Linked DNA regions of Homo sapiens: regions 2, 3, 4, 5 and 6 are each linked to region 1. The links are contacts of gene promoters, found by promoter capture Hi-C in human tissues and cell types (Jung and others, 2019). All regions are on one chromosome and are shown on one strand. The core of a region is centred on a gene start or on the middle of the fragment in contact, and the rest is flanking DNA. Distances in the headings are between cores, read along the strand shown. Region 1 holds the start of ACTL10 (actin like 10). Region 2 holds the start of LOC105372593 (a long non-coding RNA gene). Region 3 overlaps RALY (RALY heterogeneous nuclear ribonucleoprotein). Region 4 overlaps RALY (RALY heterogeneous nuclear ribonucleoprotein). Region 5 has its middle 51 kb from the start of CDK5RAP1. Region 6 has its middle 15 kb from the start of RALY.

The links. The method cuts DNA at HindIII sites, captures the fragments that hold promoters and counts their contacts. A contact is called where the count stands out against the background at its distance.
Region 2: a fragment that was not itself captured here is called in contact with the fragment with the promoter of ACTL10 in region 1 in 1 of the 25 tissues and cell types used here (bladder).
Region 3: a fragment that was not itself captured here is called in contact with the fragment with the promoter of ACTL10 in region 1 in 1 of the 25 tissues and cell types used here (mesenchymal stem cells).
Region 4: a fragment that was not itself captured here is called in contact with the fragment with the promoter of ACTL10 in region 1 in 2 of the 25 tissues and cell types used here (hippocampus and lymphoblastoid cells).
Region 5: a fragment that was not itself captured here is called in contact with the fragment with the promoter of ACTL10 in region 1 in 1 of the 25 tissues and cell types used here (spleen).
Region 6: a fragment that was not itself captured here is called in contact with the fragment with the promoter of ACTL10 in region 1 in 1 of the 25 tissues and cell types used here (mesenchymal stem cells).

Annotation. Positions count from the first base shown.
Region 1 is chr20:33,665,253-33,668,371 of GRCh38, forward strand. ACTL10 (actin like 10) reads left to right here and starts at 1,691. Exons shown (of 1, transcript NM_001024675.2): 1 at 1,691-3,119. The coding sequence starts at 2,246. The coding sequence ends at 2,983. All of the region lies in intron 5 of NECAB3 (N-terminal EF-hand calcium binding protein 3), which reads right to left. RefSeq lists enhancers at 1,384-1,603, 2,414-2,493 and a silencer at 1,734-2,063. The HindIII fragment of the contact is 10,203 bases long and covers 148-3,119 here.
Region 2 is chr20:33,257,420-33,260,538 of GRCh38, forward strand. LOC105372593 (a long non-coding RNA gene) reads right to left here and starts at 77. Exons shown (of 3, transcript XR_936683.2): 1 at 1-77. The HindIII fragment of the contact is 7,894 bases long and covers 1-3,119 here.
Region 3 is chr20:34,055,976-34,059,094 of GRCh38, forward strand. All of the region lies in intron 2 of RALY (RALY heterogeneous nuclear ribonucleoprotein), which reads left to right. Among named protein-coding and RNA genes, the nearest start is that of MIR4755, 8.4 kb to the left of the region's middle. The HindIII fragment of the contact is 3,702 bases long and covers 1-3,119 here.
Region 4 is chr20:34,012,865-34,015,983 of GRCh38, forward strand. The region is part of intron 1 of RALY (RALY heterogeneous nuclear ribonucleoprotein); the gene reads left to right. Among named protein-coding and RNA genes, the nearest start is that of RALY-AS1, 20 kb to the left of the region's middle. The HindIII fragment of the contact is 5,750 bases long and covers 1-3,119 here.
Region 5 is chr20:33,349,368-33,352,486 of GRCh38, forward strand. It overlaps the pseudogene BPIFB9P. Among named protein-coding and RNA genes, the nearest start is that of CDK5RAP1, 51 kb to the right of the region's middle. RefSeq lists an enhancer at 1-691. The HindIII fragment of the contact is 4,703 bases long and covers 1-3,119 here.
Region 6 is chr20:33,977,400-33,980,518 of GRCh38, forward strand. No RefSeq gene overlaps it. Among named protein-coding and RNA genes, the nearest start is that of RALY, 15 kb to the right of the region's middle. The HindIII fragment of the contact is 3,268 bases long and covers 36-3,119 here.

The DNA.
Region 1 (3,119 bases), core at 441-2,940:
ATCACGAGGTCAGGAGATCGAGACCATCCTGGCTAACACGGTGAAACCCCGTCTCTACTAAAAATACAAAAAACTAGCCAGGCATCATGGCGGGCGCCTGTAGTCCCAGCTACTCGGGAGACTAAGGCAGGGGAATTGAACCCAGGAGGCAGAGGTTGCAGTGAGCTGAGATCACACCACTGCACTCCAGCCTGGGCAAGAGAGCGAGACTCCATCTCAAAAAACAAACAACACAATGCAGTGCACATCCTGGGTTCCCCACAGCCCCGCAGTCAGATTCTGTTCCTGAAACCTGATTTCACCCTTGCTCTTGATATCCATAACATGTAAGATCCTTTCAATAAAGTCCTTATTTTGGGTTACATTCACCTGAGTCTTCTACCTGCAACCAAACTGGTCCTCAGGAGGATGAGGCTTTGCAGAGACAAGAAGTGACCTCTTTCCTGTGTGGGGGGATTATTACTACCTTTTGGAGGAGAAAACCGAACCCAGAGAAAGATCAAGACTTGCTTAGGACTGCACAGTGAGTCAGCTTCAGAACTGAGTCTTGCTGGGTGCGGTGGCTCACACCTGTAATCCTAGCACTTTGGGAGTCCAAGGCAGGTGGATCACCTGAGGTCAGGAGTTCGAGACCAGCCTGGCCAACGTGGCGAAACCCTGTCTCCACTAAAAATACAAAAATTAGCCGCGTATGGTGGTGCATGCCTGTAGTCCCAGCTACTCAGGAGGCTGAGGCAGGAGAATCACTTGAACTCGGAAGGCAGAGGTTGCACTGAGCTGAGATTGCAACGCTGCACGCCCAGCCTGGGTGACCGAGACTCCGTCTCAAAAATAATAATAATAAAAAAAAGAACTGAGTCTCAAACTGAGGCCCACGTGAATCCATCCGTGGAAGCCCATAAAGGTAGGGCCAGAGCCTCTCGGGGGCTCTTCAGGGAAGCTGCAGATCTGTGATGAAAAAGCTTTTTCTTCAGCACTGGGAGGGGTAGGGGGCCACACATCTGGACAGAGTACATCAGATAATTCTAAGTGGTTTGGGAAAGGAATCAGACTGTGCTGGGCTGCTGAAGCCAGACCCCTGGATGCCAAAATCACTGCCCTTGGCTCTGTCCAGAAGAGAGGATGGGTCCAGGGAGTTGTCATAAGGTAGGGAGCTGCGAAGTGCAGCTGCTGGGGAGTGAGGTCACAATGAGCCCAATCCAAGTTCTTTTCTGCCTTCTGACCAGCCCCTCCCCTCTCCACAACCAGGAACTTCCGTCAAGCCCAGGTGAGAGGTGCCAGGAGGCTGCCTGGGTCCTCAAGGGGGATATATGTCCAAATGGCCTTACCACAAGGCCCCTTCGCCCTCAAAGTTCTGCTCCTCCCGGGGGCTTCTTAGGATCTAAAAGGATCAGTCCTAGCCATCTCGTCAGCCATCTCAGCAAGGGCTGACGGGGCGGAACAGCAAAGCAGAGGCGGGTCCTGAGAGCGTGGAGCCTGAAGCCCGGCGCCAGAGGGAGACCAAGAGGGTGAGATGCGGCTGGAACCCAGCCAGAGCGGAGACTGAAGCCTGAACTAGGGGCCGGGCCTCAGGCCTAGGAACTAGCCACGAGCTGAAAAGGAGGCGGATGGCCCGGACAGAAGAGGCGGGGCTTTCAGACCAGAGGGCGGAGCCAAGAGCTGAAAAGGGTGGTGATTTGGTCCAGAAGAGGAAGAACTTAGGCTCCGGAGGCAGAGCCAAAGGCTGAAGGGGACTACTCCCTAGGACAGAGGCCGGGAGGTATCGGGCCGACGAAGCCGAGTGGCGCGGAGGAGCGGAGCCTTCAGCCCCGCGGCTGGGCCGAGCCCGAAGGTGGCGTCGGTGTCGGGGAGCCGCCGCGTGCACCGGCCGTCCTCCCTGGGCCGCATCGCGGTGGTGGTGGACCAGGGCTCGGGCTTCACCAAGGCGGGCTTCGCGGGCGAGAACCAGCCGCGCATAGTGCTGAAGAGCTCTAGCTTGGTGCCCAGCTGGGACCGGCCGGTGCTGCCCGGAGCGCCGGGCTGCGAGCTGGCGGGCGGCGTGGCGCGGGCGCACCCCATCAAGCACGGCGTGGTGGCGGACTGGGAGGCGCTGGAAGGGCTGTGGGAGCGCCTGCTGGTGGGCGGCCTGCGGGTGTGCCCAGAGCAGTGGCCCGTGCTGGTGAGCGACTCGCCGTTGGCGCCGCCCGCGGGCCGCGAAAGGGTGGCGGAGCTGCTGTTCGAGACCCTGGCAGTGCCCGCGTGCCACATGGCTAGCACCGCGTTGCTGGCGCTCTGCTCCACCGGCGCGTTCAGCGGGCTGGCCGTGGAGGCGGGCGCGGGCGTGTGCCACGCCACGCCCATCTACGCGGGTCACTCGTGGCACCAGGCCACCTTCCGACTGAACGTGGCAGGCAGCACCCTGTCGCGCTACCTGCGGGATCTGCTGGTGGCGGCGAACCCTGACCTCTTGCAGCAGGCCCTGCCCCGCAAGGCCATCACACATCTCAAGAAGCGCAGCTGCTACGTGTCCCTGGACTTCGAGGGCGACCTCCGCGACCCCGCCCGCCACCATCCGGCCAGTTTCAGCGTGGGTAACGGGTGCTGCGTCTGCCTCAGCAGTGAGCGCTTCCGCTGCCCCGAACCCATCTTCCAGCCGGGCCTGCTGGGCCAGGCTGAGCAGGGGCTGCCCGCGCTGGCCTTCCGGGCGCTGCAGAAGATGCCCAAAACGCTGCGGACACGCCTGGCAGACACCGTGGTGCTAGCCGGCGGCTCCACACTGTTTCCTGGCTTCGCCGAGCGCCTGGACAAGGAGCTGGAGGCGCAGTGCCGGCGGCACGGCTACGCGGCCCTGCGGCCCCACCTGGTGGCCAAGCATGGGCGTGGCATGGCTGTGTGGACCGGCGGCTCCATGGTGGCCTCCCTGCACTCCTTCCAGCGCCGCTGGATAACTCGGGCCATGTACCAGGAGTGTGGCTCCAGGCTGCTGTACGATGTGTTCAACTGAGTCAGGCTGGACTGGGGGGGGTGGCACTGCGTTGGGGGACAGCTCTCTATCTAAAGAGTCAAGTGTTTGGAGCTGGCAGGGTCCTCCTGGAGGTTGGAGCTGACTGGATGGGTCACCCCCATACCCTTTCTGGGCC
Region 2 (3,119 bases), core at 256-2,755, 410 kb before region 1:
CTCAGGTCATGTGGCAGCAGCTCCACTATCACCTCGCCCAGCTTCCCGAGGGTCAGCCTAGGGCCCAGCTCCGCAGAAGATCACAGCCCCTGCATGGCACTGCAGCCACCATAGGCCTCTGCCCAGCAACCATGGATCCCACAGCCATAGCATAGCAAAAACCAAAGAACACCCCAGCATTCCAAATGGAACCCAGCTATTAACTGGAAGCCTGGATTGGTCTCTTTTATGGTCAGTTAGAAAAGAAAATTTAGGTCAGGCGCAGTGGCTCATGCCTGTAATCCCAGCATTTTGGGAGGCCAAGGCGGGTGGATCACCTGAGGTCAGGAGTTCGAGACCAGCCTGGCCAACATGGTGAAATCACGTCTTTACTAAAAATACAAAAATTAGCCAGGCGTGGTGGTGGGCACCTGTAATCCCAGCTACTCGGGAGGCTGAGGCAGAAGAATCGCTTGAACTCAGGAAGCGGAATTCCTCAGTTGCAGTGAGCTGAAATCACACCATTGCACTCCAGCCTGGGTGACAACAGTGAAACTTTGTCTCAAAAAAAAAAAAAAAAAAAGGAAAGGAAAGGAAAGAAGAAAATTTATAAATAAAATATGTTTTGTCCATTACTGCTAATGATCATTCTTCTTTTCCTTTCTCACTGTTTTTGTAACTATATAAAATTAAAATGTAGTAAAATGTGCACATGTTAAATGCATGGCTTTATAGAGTTTTAAACTTTATATTCCTTATAGTATACCACAGCCTTATCAATATATAGATCATGTCTATTAACACATAAAATATTTCCTTGTGGCCAGGTGCTGTGGCGCATGCTTGCAGTCCCAGCGCTTTGGGAGGCCGAGGTGGGCAGGTCACTTGAGGTCAGGAGTTCAAGACCAGCCTGGCCAACATGGCAAAACCCCATCACTGCTAAAAATACAAAAATTAGCCAAGCATGGTGGCAAACACCTGTAGTCCCAGCTACTCGGGAGGCTGAGGCACAAGAATCACTTGAACCTGGGAGGCAGACGCTGCAGTGAGCTGAGATTGCACCACTGCACTCCAGCCTGGGTGACACAGTGAGACTCTGTCACAAAGAAAACAAAAAAAAACTCCTTGTAACGTTTTAACCAATACCCACTCACTCTACCATATGCAGCCCCTGTTTTGATTTCTAGTAACATACATTATTTTAGCCATTTCTTCAACTTCATAAAAATTAATCACAATGTATACTTGGAAAAAAATGTTAAACATACACTTAACATATGACCCAGCAACCCTACTTCTAGATTTTTAGGCTAGAGGAATGAAATATGCTCACAACAAAACCTGTTCCTTCATGTTTGGGGATTTTTTTTTGGCGGCGGGGGGCGGGGGGGGGGCATTTGGTTTTGCGTGTGTGTGTCAGAGTCTCATTCTGTTGCCCAGGCTAGAGTGCAGTGGCATGATCTTGGCTCACTGCAACCTCCGCCTCCCAGGTTCAAGTGATTCTCATGCCTCAGCCTCCCGAGTAGCTGGAATTACAGATGCACGTGACCATAGCCAGCTACTTCTTCTGTATTTTTAGTAGAGACAGGGTTTCACTATGTTGGCCAGGCTGGTCTTAAACTCCTGACCTCAAGTGATCTACCCACCTTGGCCTCCTAAAGTGCTGGGATTACAAGCGTGAGCCAATGCGCCTGGCCGTGTTCCTTAATGTTTATAGCAAATTTGTTCATAATATCCCAAAACTGGAAACAACCCAAATGCCTTTCATTAGGTGAATAAACAAACTTCAGTACATCTATACCACAGAATACTACTGGGCAATGAAGAGGAACAGATATTGGTTTACACAACAACTTGAATGAAGTTAGGAAGAGGATCCGAATTCTCATTGTCTGCCTGAGGGATGATTTGATAGGTATCAAAGGTCAAGACATGCCATTATAAAGCAGGAAGAAGATATGAATTTTTATTTGTTTAAAGCTCAAGTTTGTGATGCAGATAAATTCTGAAAAATATAAAAGGAATAAAAACCCAGGAAACTCACTTATAGATCATTCATACTTTAAATTATGACTTCCTTCCCAATGTCCCTGCCACTATTGTTTTCAGAACCCTCAGAGAGCTTTCTCATTCACTGTGTCCAGGGTTTTTGTTTCATTCAGTAGGAAATACAGAGTGGAACGGCTTACTCCATCCATTTCCACTCTCCCGTTTGTAAAACGAGCTGGATTACGGCAGATGAGGGTGGACCTCCAGAAATTTAACACAGTGCGTTGACTGTTGTAGTATCTTTACTGGAACAGCCCAATGCAGCCTTAGGTACTTACTATGGAGCTTTTAATCTGGAAAATGTGTTCTTTTCAATACTCAAGGTAACAAGCTCAGAAGCAAATGGCACTCACTTGGGATAAATAACGGTACACACTCAGTCTTGCCCCTGCTCTCTCTTGTTCTTAAAACAAGTTATCCATGGCTGGGCACAGTGGCTCTCACCTGTAATCCCAGCACTTTGGGAGGCTGAGGTGGGTTGATCGCTTTGAGCTCAGGAGTTTGAGACCAGCCTGGGCAACATAATGAAACCTCGTCTCTACTGAAAATACAAAAATTAGCTGGGCGTGGTCCTAGCTACTCAGGAAGCTGAGGCATGAGAATTGCTTGAACCCAGGAGGCGGAGTTTGCAGTGAGCCAAGATTGCACCACTGCACTCCAGCCTAGGTGACAGAGTGAGACCCTGTCTCAAAAAAAAAAAAAAAAAAAAAAAAAAAAAGCTATCCATTTGTAAATTGCTGATTTCTTTAGGGCATTGGCTCCATAAACTTTTCATAAAGCCTCAATGATTTCACCATTCACCCATCCAAGTTTCACCATAAATTTGATGTGTATTCTTGCTTCAATTTTAGCAGGATTCATGTGGCTTTGATAGGGTTTTTTTCTAAGTGATGTCTTATCCTTCTTATTGCCTCAAACTAGATCCCGTTCAACATGTTATAACAAATTAGTTCAAGTTTATTTTGGTGCAAAAAGAATTTGGAAATGCAGGCATAGTTTCTTCATAATATGCATTTTCCATAAGCTTTTCGGAGACCTTCATAGGATAAGAGATCTATTGTAGAGATTTGATCTTACAGAACCATGGGAGT
Region 3 (3,119 bases), core at 329-2,828, 390 kb after region 1:
TGCTCAGGGGTTGGATTGGTGGTTCAGATGCTCAGAAGCTATAGGGACTTACAAGTGCCTCCTTACTGAGCACTGGGCTGCGTACAACATCAGAACGGGTGATGGCTCACTCTTCAGTGTCCACAAAGCCCTTTCTGATCTGATCTCGGCTAGGCACTCTAGTATCATCGGCATCATTTCTTGTTACATCCTAGACTCTGGGCAAACCACAATACATCATATTATTCATTAAATGTGGGATCTCTGTCAAACTTCTGTAACTTTCCTTATGCTATTTCCTCTTAAATGTACTCTCTTACCTGTGTGTGGGTTAACTTCAACTCATCCTTCAGGACAAGATTGGAACTTACTGTTGACTCTTCTTGTCTGAGTCGTCTCCCTTTCTTTCTGTCCCTTAGGTAATTGACATGCCTCCAAGTTCCTAGTTGCTCCTGTCATAGACCTCATCAAGATGAAACATAGGTTCTGGTTTTCTTGAGGTTTTCACCACTGACTGGACTATAAATTCTTCCAGGGGGGAGATTGTACTTTATTAACCTCTGTAGTTTTATACAGTGTCTGGCAGTAATAGGTGAACAATAAATGATTTTTTGATAAATGAGTAAATCTTTTTAGCATGTTATTCCTCTACCTAGGAACCTACAGTAACTTCATGGCACTCAAAACTTTGTAGACTCAAAAGCTAGTAAACACAGTAGACTATACATCTTCACATGTACATGAAAACAGTAATGAGGATTTGATTTTCCCTACTAATTCACCTCTACTCTCCCTACCCCACCACCTGCCCAATATGGTAATACATGGTGCTGCGAGGTTGCCATGAAAGTGGCATTCATTGGAGATAACAGTGTAAATTGGTGTAACTCTTTTGGAAAGCAGTTAAGCAATGTGTTGCCAGAGCCAATAAAATGTTCATATATTTGACCAGTCATTCCACTTCTGGGAGTCTGTCCTAAGGAAATAGTCTAGTTTATACAATAAGCTTTCCCTCAGATGCTATTGTTTATAATAGTGAGAAATTGGAAAAAGCCTAAAAGACCACCAATCTAAACTATGATAAATCTACTCAGGGAAAACCACGAGCTTTTAAAGCAGTAGTGTAAAAAATGATGCTTACCGAAAACTATGCGGCAGTAAGGACAAATATGCTATAATATATATAATAAATGTGTTATAATGCTAATTGAAAAAATTAGGCTACAGAGTTGAGTTATCTAACCATGTAATCCAAACATAATGTGCAAGAAAAACACTGGAAGGAAATACATGAACATGCTAACAGTTATGTCCCATAGAGGGGTGGGGGTTAGATGATTTCATATGGTAATTTCATATAATAAACATACTCAATATAATAGCACAAATTCTTACCCAAATTATTGGTTAAGAATTTTAAAATAATAAACCAGCCAGGTGTGGTGGCTCACGCCTGTAATCCCAGCACTTTGGGAGGCTGAGGCGGGCGGATCACGAGGTCAGGAGATCGAGACCATCCTGGCTAACACGGTGAAACCCTGTCTCTACTGAAAATACAAAAAATTAGCTGGGCATGGTGGCGGGCGCCTGTAGTCCCAGCTACTCTGGAGGCTGAGGCAGGAGAATGGCATGAACCTGGGAGGCGGAGCTTACAGTGAGCCGAGATGGCGCCACTGCACTCCAGCCTGGGCGACAGAGCGAGACTCCGTCTCAAAAAAAAAAAAAAAAAAACAACCTCTGATCTTACCCATTTTAAACAAAGAAATGATATGGTAATATTGCTGTGGTGACAGTAGAGGATTATTTAAAGAATGGTAATAAGAATGGAGAGAGGGGGGCTACATTCTAAAAATATTGAGGCCAAATGAGGAGGGCGTGGTGAATAACAGTATGTGGGGGAAATGTATATGCCTAATAGAGAACATTGGTTCATGGAGTTTAATGAGATGTCCAAGGTCACACAGCTAGTAAGTGGCTGATCCTGGATTTAAACCTTGTTCTGTCTCTGTCCAAAGCCATGCCCTTTCTCCTGCAGCTGAGACACCTATTACAGTTTTGGAGAAACTTTTTTTTTTTCTTTTAACCAGTTGCAGTGTAGAAGCTTGTTTAGTGTAGTGCCTCCTTTTTGAGGGGAAGGGGGCCGGGAAGGGTTAATTCTTTCTAAGACAATGACAAGGGGGAAAGACCATAGATACCAAAGCTGCTTCTGTCATGATCAGTTGAATTGATGAGTTTAGAAGTTCACTAGGCATTGGGTGTGTTATACCTGTCGTTTTGAGGGCTGTTTTTTGTGAAGTTGCAGGGGTTCATTGGTTGGCTTTCGTTTGATGCTTAGCTTATGGTAGCAGGGCATCTTGGACATAAGCGTGCATATGTATACCGTATTACATGCTAATGAACATTTTGTTCATTACACCAAGTTTATTAATGATGCTGCTGCTGTGGGAGTGAGAGAGGGGTCAGGGTGGCAGCTTCAAACAAGGGACAGTGTCTAAGCTGCTCTCTGAAAGGAACGGTTCACCTGAACCATACAATGCCCTATCCCCATACTTCTCAATGACTAATCCAAGAAAAGGTGATTTTGAACTTGAGTCTATCCTTTGGAGTATGATACTCATCCCTTCGGAAGAACCCATTTCACATTGACATGTTCACTCTCTGACCTTAGGCATGTTCTCTGCGCTAGGGTTTACTCTCTGCACTAGGGTTTGCCTAATAGAGAACATTGGCTCAATGAGTTTAATGAGATGTCCAAGGTCACACAACTAGTAAGTGCTGATCCTGGATTTAAACCCACTAGGGTTTACTCATTTATAAAGTGAATGACATATAACCACTCAGAGGATTGTTGTGTATAGATTTGGTAGCCTTAACTCATGAAGAGTCTTGTAAGCCACATTAAAGGATTTGAACTTGATTCTTTATGGTGGGAAGCCCTTGAAGGATTTTAAACAGGAGGTGGCAGGGGCACACTTGATTGATCACACAGGAAGCAGATGCTTAGTAATGTTTGTGGAGTTAATGTTGTTACCAGGGAGACAAAGGCAGAGTGGCTACAACTGTGGCATCATTCTCAGTGGTCCCCTGTAGACCAAACATGTGACACTGTGGGAGATGATGCTTAGAGCCCTAAGTTATGT
Region 4 (3,119 bases), core at 404-2,903, 350 kb after region 1:
GGATGTGCCAGGCTGTATCATGACTTTGTTTTGACTACAGATAGTCCCTGGTTTACAGTTTGACTTACTGATTTTTTGACTTTATGTTGGTTACAAAAGTGATATGCATTCAGTAGAAACGGTACTTGGACTACTCATACAGCTAGTCTGTTTTCACTTTCAGTAAAGTATTCAATAAATTATGTGAGATATTCAACACTGTATTATAAAATAGGCTTTGTGTTAGTTGATTTTGCTCACCTGAAGGCTAGTGTTAATGTTCTGCGCATATTCAAGGTAGGCTAAACTAAACTAGGGTGTTTGGTAAGTTAGGTGTATTAAATGCATTTTCCCAGCCTGGGCAACATAGACTTCATCTCTTTTTTAAAACAAACAAACAAACAAAATAAAAAAAAAAACTAGCTCGCATAATGGGGCATTCCTGTAGTCTCAGCAGCTACTTGGGAGGCTGGGGTGGGAAGATCGCTTGAGCCTAGGAGGTTGAGGCTGTAGTAAGCCTTGATTGTGTTACTATACTCCAGCTTAGGCATCAGAACGAGACCTTGTCTCAAAAAAAAAAAAAAAAAAAAAAAGGCATTTCGACTTACAGTATTTTCAGCTTACAAGGGGCTTATTGGGATGTAACCCTGTTGTAAATTGAGCAGCATCTGTATTTCCCCTAAGTAGAAATCCCCTTATCTTCTTATCCCCTTTACCTGACAGACTCCTGTTTATCTTTCATATCAATTCCAATGCCACTTCCTCAGGGAAGCTTTCCCTGATCACTACAGAAGCAGAATTAATTTTGATCAAATAAAATACAGGATTTATAGCAGGCCCTTTGACTTCTAGGACTGCTGTAGTTGTACTCTAGTGCTGTGTCACACCCAAATCCTCTCTCATTCATTGGATCGAGACAGTATAGGCCAGGGGATAGTGTGCTACTTATCTCTATTTCCCTTGTGTCTCTGAAATAGGCTTGGCACAAATAGTACTTACAAAATGAATGATGGAAATGTGTATGCATTGATACTTATAGTATAGTTTGGTGTTGAGTGCTACAGATGAAATATGACAGTGCGCTTTAAAGAAGAGGCTTAATTTGGGGGTGACTAAAATAAAAAATTATTGACTTGAGGGTCTCTGTTTTGCAAGAATACATAATTAGCTTAAATAAGCAGCAAAAGGTTAGTTTTAATTATGTAGCTTCTGTTAATATTAAGTGTTTTTTGTCTGTTTTACCTCAATTTGAACAGATTAAGTTTGCGTGCATGCTGGACATGCCTCAGAACACATGAGTAGCCCGTACTAGATCTTGGGAACGTGGATCTTAGAGTCACTTTGGAATAAGTTCTTATATAAATACCCCCAGCCTTTTGAGAACGGGGCTTGTTAAAGGACGCGTATGTAGGGCCAGTACCTACTGGCAGTTGGATTCAGGGAAATGGGATTGACTTGGCCTTTGGTCCTTTGGTCATAATTTTAAAATATGGGAGTAGAAAACAACAAAGAATGGAATGGATGCTTAAAACAATGAAAGAGCATTTATCATTTGTCTCTTGAATGTAGAGTTTGTTTTTGATTTCATAATTCTGCGGGTAAACGTGACAGTTAAAGTGGTGGATTATGTATATGTATTATAATTTAGAAATTCCATTTTATAATTTTACTATTCCAAGGTGAAATAATGCATTTAAATTTGGGATTTGGGTGGAGTATTATGTTTAACTGGAGTTGTTGTCAAGTATGAATCCCTCAGGGAAAAAAAATTCTGTTTTAAAAAGCAGTCTGATTCTTAGCTCTTGAAACTATTGTTACTTAAATTTCCAATAATTAAAAATTAAAAATTTTAAAATTAGAATTGCCAATACTTTGACCTTTGAGAAGGGTTTCTTAGAAATACATTTAGTAATGTCCCCAAGACATTAGTCTTACATTTAAACTTTTTTCTTTAAAACATGGTATTGGTTGTTAACCTTTACACAGTTCTGAGTACTGTTAATATCTGGAAAGTATCTTGAGATATCAGTGGAAAGCTAAACAGTCTAAATTTAACATGAAATACTTCTTTATGATTCAGAAAATAAAATCAGATTTTTTCAAAGTCAAAAAAAGAAATGTGACAAAGTGCTCTGGAAATTTACTGGAATTCTTGAGAGAGAACTAACTGGAAGAAATCTTGGAAGCTTCTAGAAGCTGGTAGCATTTGAGCTTGTCCTTAAAGATTCAGGAGTTCAGTTGGCAGAGATGGTGGGAAGAACATTCTAGATGGAAGGAATGGTAGGAGTAAAAGTAATGAGGAAGTACGGAAGCCAGGCCCTACCTACTAATCCACCTGTCCCCCTTATTCAGAATTTCTGCCAAATGTGTGCTAAATCTCTGTGGGCCAGCCTAAAGGATATTTACTTTTCTTCCTATTCTTTCCTTCCCTTCTTCCTACCTCTTTTGTCCTTTTTGCCTTTTATTTTTTGTTTCTTCTCAATATTTCCCCCTTTTTTTTTAAATCTCCCCCTTTCTCCAGTCCTTCATAAAAAAACAAAAAAGCAAAAAACTTTATTTACCTTTCTCTACCTACTTCTTTTTTGCACTTTTCCTAGGTAACCCAAGAAATCCAAGTCTTTGGGTGGAGATGTGAATCAGCCATACAATGTTTAACTCCAAATAACACCTCCCCTTGTGAAGCTGAGAAGTAATTGAGGCATAATTGCTTCTCATCTGTCTCTTGTGTTTTATTGGCATAGACTTTTTTTTTTTTAACCTCCCACAGTGCTGGGGGTGTCATTATCATTTTATTTTTCGTAGTTGTCAAAATGTCAATTTTAATGAGAAATTTCTGCAGATAGGTTTGCCCTTGAGTGGTAGGAGCCTTCAGGCAAAGCCAGGGCTAGATGAGTCAGGAATGTTCATGGATCTGTTTTCTCATGCATACAGGTGTATAGGCCACACAGAGGCAGACACCTACTTTTCCCCATCCCTACAGGCTCAATGCTTTGCAACATGTGCACACACACACACACACACAATTGATGTGCATGTATGTCCTCTCTTCTATACACAAAGTATCTCCCTTACACTTTCAAGCCATCTATTCCTCCTCCTCCCGTATGTGCACACATTTACCCTCTTACACCCCTGTCCCA
Region 5 (3,119 bases), core at 421-2,920, 320 kb before region 1:
GAAGTGTGAGAAGGTTAACTTGGCTGGTTTGCTTGGGACCGTATTATCCACAGTGAGCGACTTGGACCTGCTGTCTCTATTAGACCTCACTTCACCCCTTGATATACTTGGAGGTGCCAGCCTCAGTGGTATCCTAGGTGAGGGAAGTGGCGGCAAGTCCTCGAAACTTCCATTGCTCTCAGAACTCACTGGTGCTGTCAGTGGTCTGCTACCCCAGGGGACGGAGGGTCTGGTGAGCCTACTACCCACTGGTTCAGACAAGAACCCTGTAAAAGGACTCCTCGGTGGCACTGGTCTCTCCACTCTCCAGCGGCCTCTGAAGGATGTGACCGACAAAGTCCAAGACCTCAAAGAGTCTGCTCAGGGCGTGCTGAACAGCACCCTGCCCTCAGGCATCAGCGATGCACTCCCAGACCTGCTGAAAAATGCTGACCTGGAACAGCTCTTGCTGGGGTAAGTGCTTCCTTGACCCTATGTATGACTTCTCCACCAGAAACCTGCTGATTTGGATGCTCATGTTCAACTTCCAACAGTCCCACGGATTGGGATGGGTATATTGCTTGAGATTGATATATTTCACCAGAAATATTCTCGCTCTATGCTGTGCCTATATCCTTTCAGGGGGAAACAGGATCAAGATTTTTGAGCTTATAGGCCTGGGCACATTAGACAGCTGAGGGGTCAAGGGACTGGATGGTGGCTTGGTAGGCTGTTAATTATCTGCTTCAAAGGCATTTCTCCTGCTGTCCAGGCTGATTCGTTGAAACAGGACTGACTCTTGATGCTTTCGCTTTGCAGATTACAGGTTGAAAAAGTAACTGTGGAGAGCATGAAGTCAACCACGACAGGCGATGGGATCCATGTCCAAGCCACGACTACGGCCTTCATAGGTGGAAAAGGGTGAGTCTGTGCACACAGCAGTCCACTGGGTCCCCCTGCCCCAGGGTTGTAACATCCAGTGAGCAAAGACCAGGTAGAGACAACAGAGAGGACAGCAGCATGGGTGAGGATGGGGCAAAGCGGGCACTGCACACAGCTGCCCCTCTCCCCAAGTACAGGTGGGCAAGGCAAGAGAATGGTCCAGGGAGCCTCATCCTCCAATAATGTGAACAAAAATGTTGACGGGCTGGGTGTGGTGGCTCACGCCTGTAATCCCAGCACTTGGGGAGGCCTAGGCGGGCGGATTACGAGGTCAGGAGATCGAGCCCATCCTGGATAACACAGTGAAACCCCGTCTCTACTAAAAATACAAAAAAATAGCTGGGCGTGGTGGCGGGCGCCTGTAGTCCCAGCTACTCGGGAGGCTGAGGCAGGAGAATGGCGTGAACCTGGGAGGCGGAGGTTGCAGTGAGCCGAGATCACGCCACTGCACTCCAGTCTCGGTGACAGAGCGAGACTCCATCTCAAAAAAAAAAAAAAAAAGAAAATGACAGGACCCACTCACCCCACCCACCCCACTAAGCCACTAGGGAAGGCAAAACTAGGTCATGAAAAGTGCTGAAAGAGGCAAGGTTTTAGACTCAGTTAGTTTCACTTACAGGAATCTGTCCAAAAAACCTAAGTACAGATACATTTAAACACAAAGACATAGGGGTATTCATGATGGGAATTTAAAAAACAAAAAACCTGAAACAAAAAGCAAATAATTAAACCAAGTACAAGATTAGAAATGCTGACAACATTTATAATGGTATACAGAAATGCTTGTGAAGTTGTTTTTTTTTTGTTTTGTTTTTGAGACAAGGTCTCACTCTGTCACCGGGGCTGGAGTGCAGAGGCACAATCACAGCTCACTGCAGCCTGGATCTCCTAGGTTCAGGTGATCCTCCCACCTCAGCCTCTCAAGTAGTTGGGACCACAGGTGTGTGCCAAGGTGCTCAGCTAACTTCTTTTTTTTTTTTTAATTTTTTGTGGAGACCAGGTCTTGCTATGTTGCTCAGGCTGCTCTCAAACTCCTGGGCTCAAGCAATCCTCCTGCCTGGGCCTCCCAAAGTGCTGGGATTACAGGTGTGAGCCACCACGCCCAGCTATTGTTAGTTTTATTTTATTTTATTTTGAGATGGAGTCTCATTCTGTCGCCCAGGCTGGAGTGCAGTGGCGTGATCTTGGCTCACTGCAACCTCTGCCTCCTGGATTCAAATGATTTTTCTGCCTCAGCCTCCCGAGTAGCTGGGACTACAGGTGCACACCACCACACCTGGCTAATTTCTCTGTTGTTGTAGTAAAGATGGGGTTTCTCCATGTTCATCAGGCTGGTCTCAAACTCCTGACCTCAAATGATCTGCATGCCTCGGCCTCCCAAAGTGCTGGGATTACACGTGTGCACCACCATGCCCAGCTATTGTTGGTTTTTAAACTAACAATAGCAAAGTTTACTTTGCTGAAACTTCTAACTTTCCTGCTCTGTGGAGTTTGCATTTCATAAGCAGGGGGAAATGCATATTAACCAATGAAGGTCAGAATATCCATGAAAGGAAATTACAGACAAGATGGGCTTTGGAATGTGGGAAGGAATGAGGGCCTGCCAGGCTGACAGCGCATGTACAGGAAGGTAAGGAATGTGACTGTTGGCCAGGCGAGGTGGCTCACACCTAGAATCCCAGCACTTTGGGAGGCCAAGGTGAGTGGGTCGCTTGAATCCAGGAGTTGGAAACCAGCCTGAGCAACATGACAAAATCCTGTCCCTACAAAAAATCCAAAAATCAGCCAGGCATGGTGGCATGTGCCTGTAGTCCTAGCTGCTAGGGAGGCTGAGGTGGAAGGATCACTTGGATAGGAGGAGGCAGAGGTTGCAGTGAGCCGAGATTGCACCGCTGCACTCCAGCCTGGCAACAGAGTGAGACTCTGTCTCAAAAAAAAAAAAAAGTGACACAGATACACACACACACACACACACACACACCTTACTGGTAGAAACACTTAAACAAGGGCCATTCACCTGAAAAATAATGAATGTGGCTTCTCCTGGAAAGTCAGAGATCTGGGTGCCCTGAGCCTAACTGCATGGGGTCCACGGGCAGCCGGAGCTCAGCAGCAGCTCCTCCTTCACCAGGTGCCTGCCCTCAGGGCACTGCAAACCCCACCATGCCCACGGTCCCGCACCACAGTGGAGTTGGGGA
Region 6 (3,119 bases), core at 420-2,919, 310 kb after region 1:
TTTATCTCTACAAAAAAATTAAAAAAAATAACTGGGCATGGTGGTGTGTGCCTGTAATCTCAGCTACTTGGGAGGCTGATGAGGGAGAATTGCTTGAATCCAGGCAGGTGAGGCTGCAGTAAGCCCTGATCATACCACTGCACTCTAGCCTAGGTGACAGAGCAAGATCCTGTCTCAAAAGAGAAAAAAAGAAAGAAAGCAGTTATGTCTAGAGATTGTGGCTGTGAAAGATGTCTTAGTCTGTTTTCTGCTACTATAACAGAACACCACAGGCTAGGTAATCTATAAAGAACAGAAGTTTATTTGGCTCATCGTTCTGGAGGCTGGGAAGTCCAAGAACATTGCATTAGCATCTGGTGAGGGTCTTCCCATGGTGGAAGGGCAGAAGGTGGAAGCTAGTGCACAAGACAGAGAGAGGATATCGGGCTAAACTCTTTCTTTTATCAGGAGCCCACTCCCATGAAAATTAACCCACTCCCTCAAGCCCTCATGACCTAGTCACCTCTTAAAGGCCCCACTACCCAATACCATCACATTGGTAAATAAATTTCAACATGAGTTTTGGAAGGGACATTCAAACCATAGCAAGGAATATTTATTTTCCATGTTATCTGTGTCTGTAACATTAGTGTTTTTAAGTAACAACCAGGTATTGCTTTTGTCATTAAAAAAAGAAAGATAGCTCTGACACATACTAAAATGTTTATGAATGAAAAAATGTGATTTCTGAGATTTGCTTCAAAATAATGTGGGAATAAAGAAATGAGTGTAGGTAGAGACTAGCCATAAATTGATAAACACTGAAGTTGGATGATGGGCAAATGGGAATTTGATATATTATTTCCTCTGCTTTTGTATATACTTGAAATTTTCCATAATAAAAATATTTTAAAAGGAAGTAATTTTATAGACACAGATATGAAGAGAGAGCCACACTGTAGTTTTTAAAAGAAACAGCATTGTATGTATGATATTGCATCTGTGTGCAATGATACTTGTGTCTCTCTCTATATTGGTATACATGTAAAAAAAAAAGACTTAGTTCAAGTAATAATAACAAGCAAGTTTACTGAACACTTGTGAGGGTATCAGGCAGCATCTTAAGTATAGAAATCTCTATTTTCTTTTTTTTCAAAATGATATATTTAAGGCTGAGCGCAGTGATGCGCACCTGTAATCCCAGCACTTTGGGAGGCCGAGGAGGGCAGATCACCTGAGGCCAGGAGTTCGAGACCAGCCTGGCCAACATGGTGAAACCCCGTCTCTACTAAAAATACAAAAATTGTAATCTCAGCTACTCAGGAGGCGGAGGCAACAAAAAGATATATTTAAAGCCACTACCTGCAGGTCTTTTGGAAATTTAAGTTTTTGCTAGCCCAGTAAATTTTTTGACATTCTTCCCATAAAAGGGTGGTGTCATGTGCCTTCCTTTTGAACCTGGATGGGCTTCTGTTTTGACCAACAGAGTACAACAGAAATCCCACCTACCTAATGTTCACACCCTGGCTCTACCACTTGCTAATTGTGACCTGTGGCACAATATGACCTTTACGGCTCTATACCTCCTTTTCCACCTCTGTATAATGAGGATAATCATAAATACCTCATAGGATCATTGTGAAGATTAGATGAGTTGTATGTGAAATTCACAGAACAATTTCTGGGCAGGTAGTAATTACTAAATAAATCTTTTCTTCATTAACAACAACAACAACAACAACAAGAAAGAGTATAGCAGAAATGATGCAGTGTGATTTCAGAGGCTGAGTCGTAAAATACCATGCAGCTGCTGCCTTGTTCACTGAAATACTTACTCACAGGTTCCTGAGCCACTATGTAAGGAGTTTAACTACCCTGTGGCTGTCATGCTAGGAGGAAGCCCAAGCCACACGGAGAAGCTATGTGTAGGTATTGTGATCTACAGTCCCCACTGTGCCCAACCTTTGAGTCATCCCAGCCCAGGCACCAGACAGGTGAGCACAGAAGTCTTCAGATGATTCTAGTCCTCAACCCTGGGAGTCTTCCTCAATAAGGCCCTAAACATCATGGAGCAGAAATAAATTATCCCTATGGTGCCCTGTGTGAATTCCTGATCCTCATAATCTGTGACCAGAATACAGTTGTTTTTGTTTTATATCACTAAGTCAGATGGTTTGTTATACACAATAGATAACTGGAACATACGGACTTTCAATTGTATGAGATAATTACATTTGGTTCTTATGGTTGAAATCACTGTAAAGAGCATTTTTGTCCTTACTCGCAGTTAATCACAGTCTTACACTGTAGTCTTGTTTACTTATATTTTTAAGTTAATCTATTCTTTTGGTTTAAATATGTCTTTAAGGAGAAAAAAGAGTATTTTTGTAACGCATAGTAGAAACAATTGCTATGAAAATTTTAAATCATGCTTTCCCATATATCATTTTAAATCATCTTGTGGCTCACCAGGGACATATCCCACCTTCTAGGAATTACTGCATTAAGCTTTCTTCTGATCACAAAGGTTTCTCCTAACTTTTACATTTGAGAATGTATGAGGTTCCCTTCCCCAGGTTGTCATTGCATGTTGCCCCAGGACACCCTCTCTCTGAAGGAGTTCGCAGACAGAGTTCCCGTGCAGTGCATGAGACAGTTAACATTCATGGGAGGTGACCCACATCAGGAACTGTGAAGGGTCTGAGATTTTACCCTACTTACAAACTCATCAGCTAGATTATTTCCTGAATGCTGGCAGAAGACATAGACTCCTGGGTCAGAGATAAGAAACTGTATTACTTACAGAGAAAGTAGATGCTGACTTCAGGCTTACCCTGATTCCCCAAACCTCTGAAGTCCTGAGGATGTGATGCAGGTGGGCCTGCTCACACAGAGTTGTGTCACAGGAGAGGAATACTGAGCTAAGAGAAACTATTGCTTTTACAGTGAGCAGTCACAAACCTTCCCTTTGAAGACATGACTTCATCCCTCAAGGTTGTTTTCTGCAAACACAACCCTGAGAAATGGCCTGAGTAAAGGGCAATCAGGGTCTTGCCTTCCTGGTGCACCAGCAAGAACATGCAGGGATGCTCAGAGCTCATGGATATCCCGATCACAAGCTGCATGGCCTAGGCCAGATA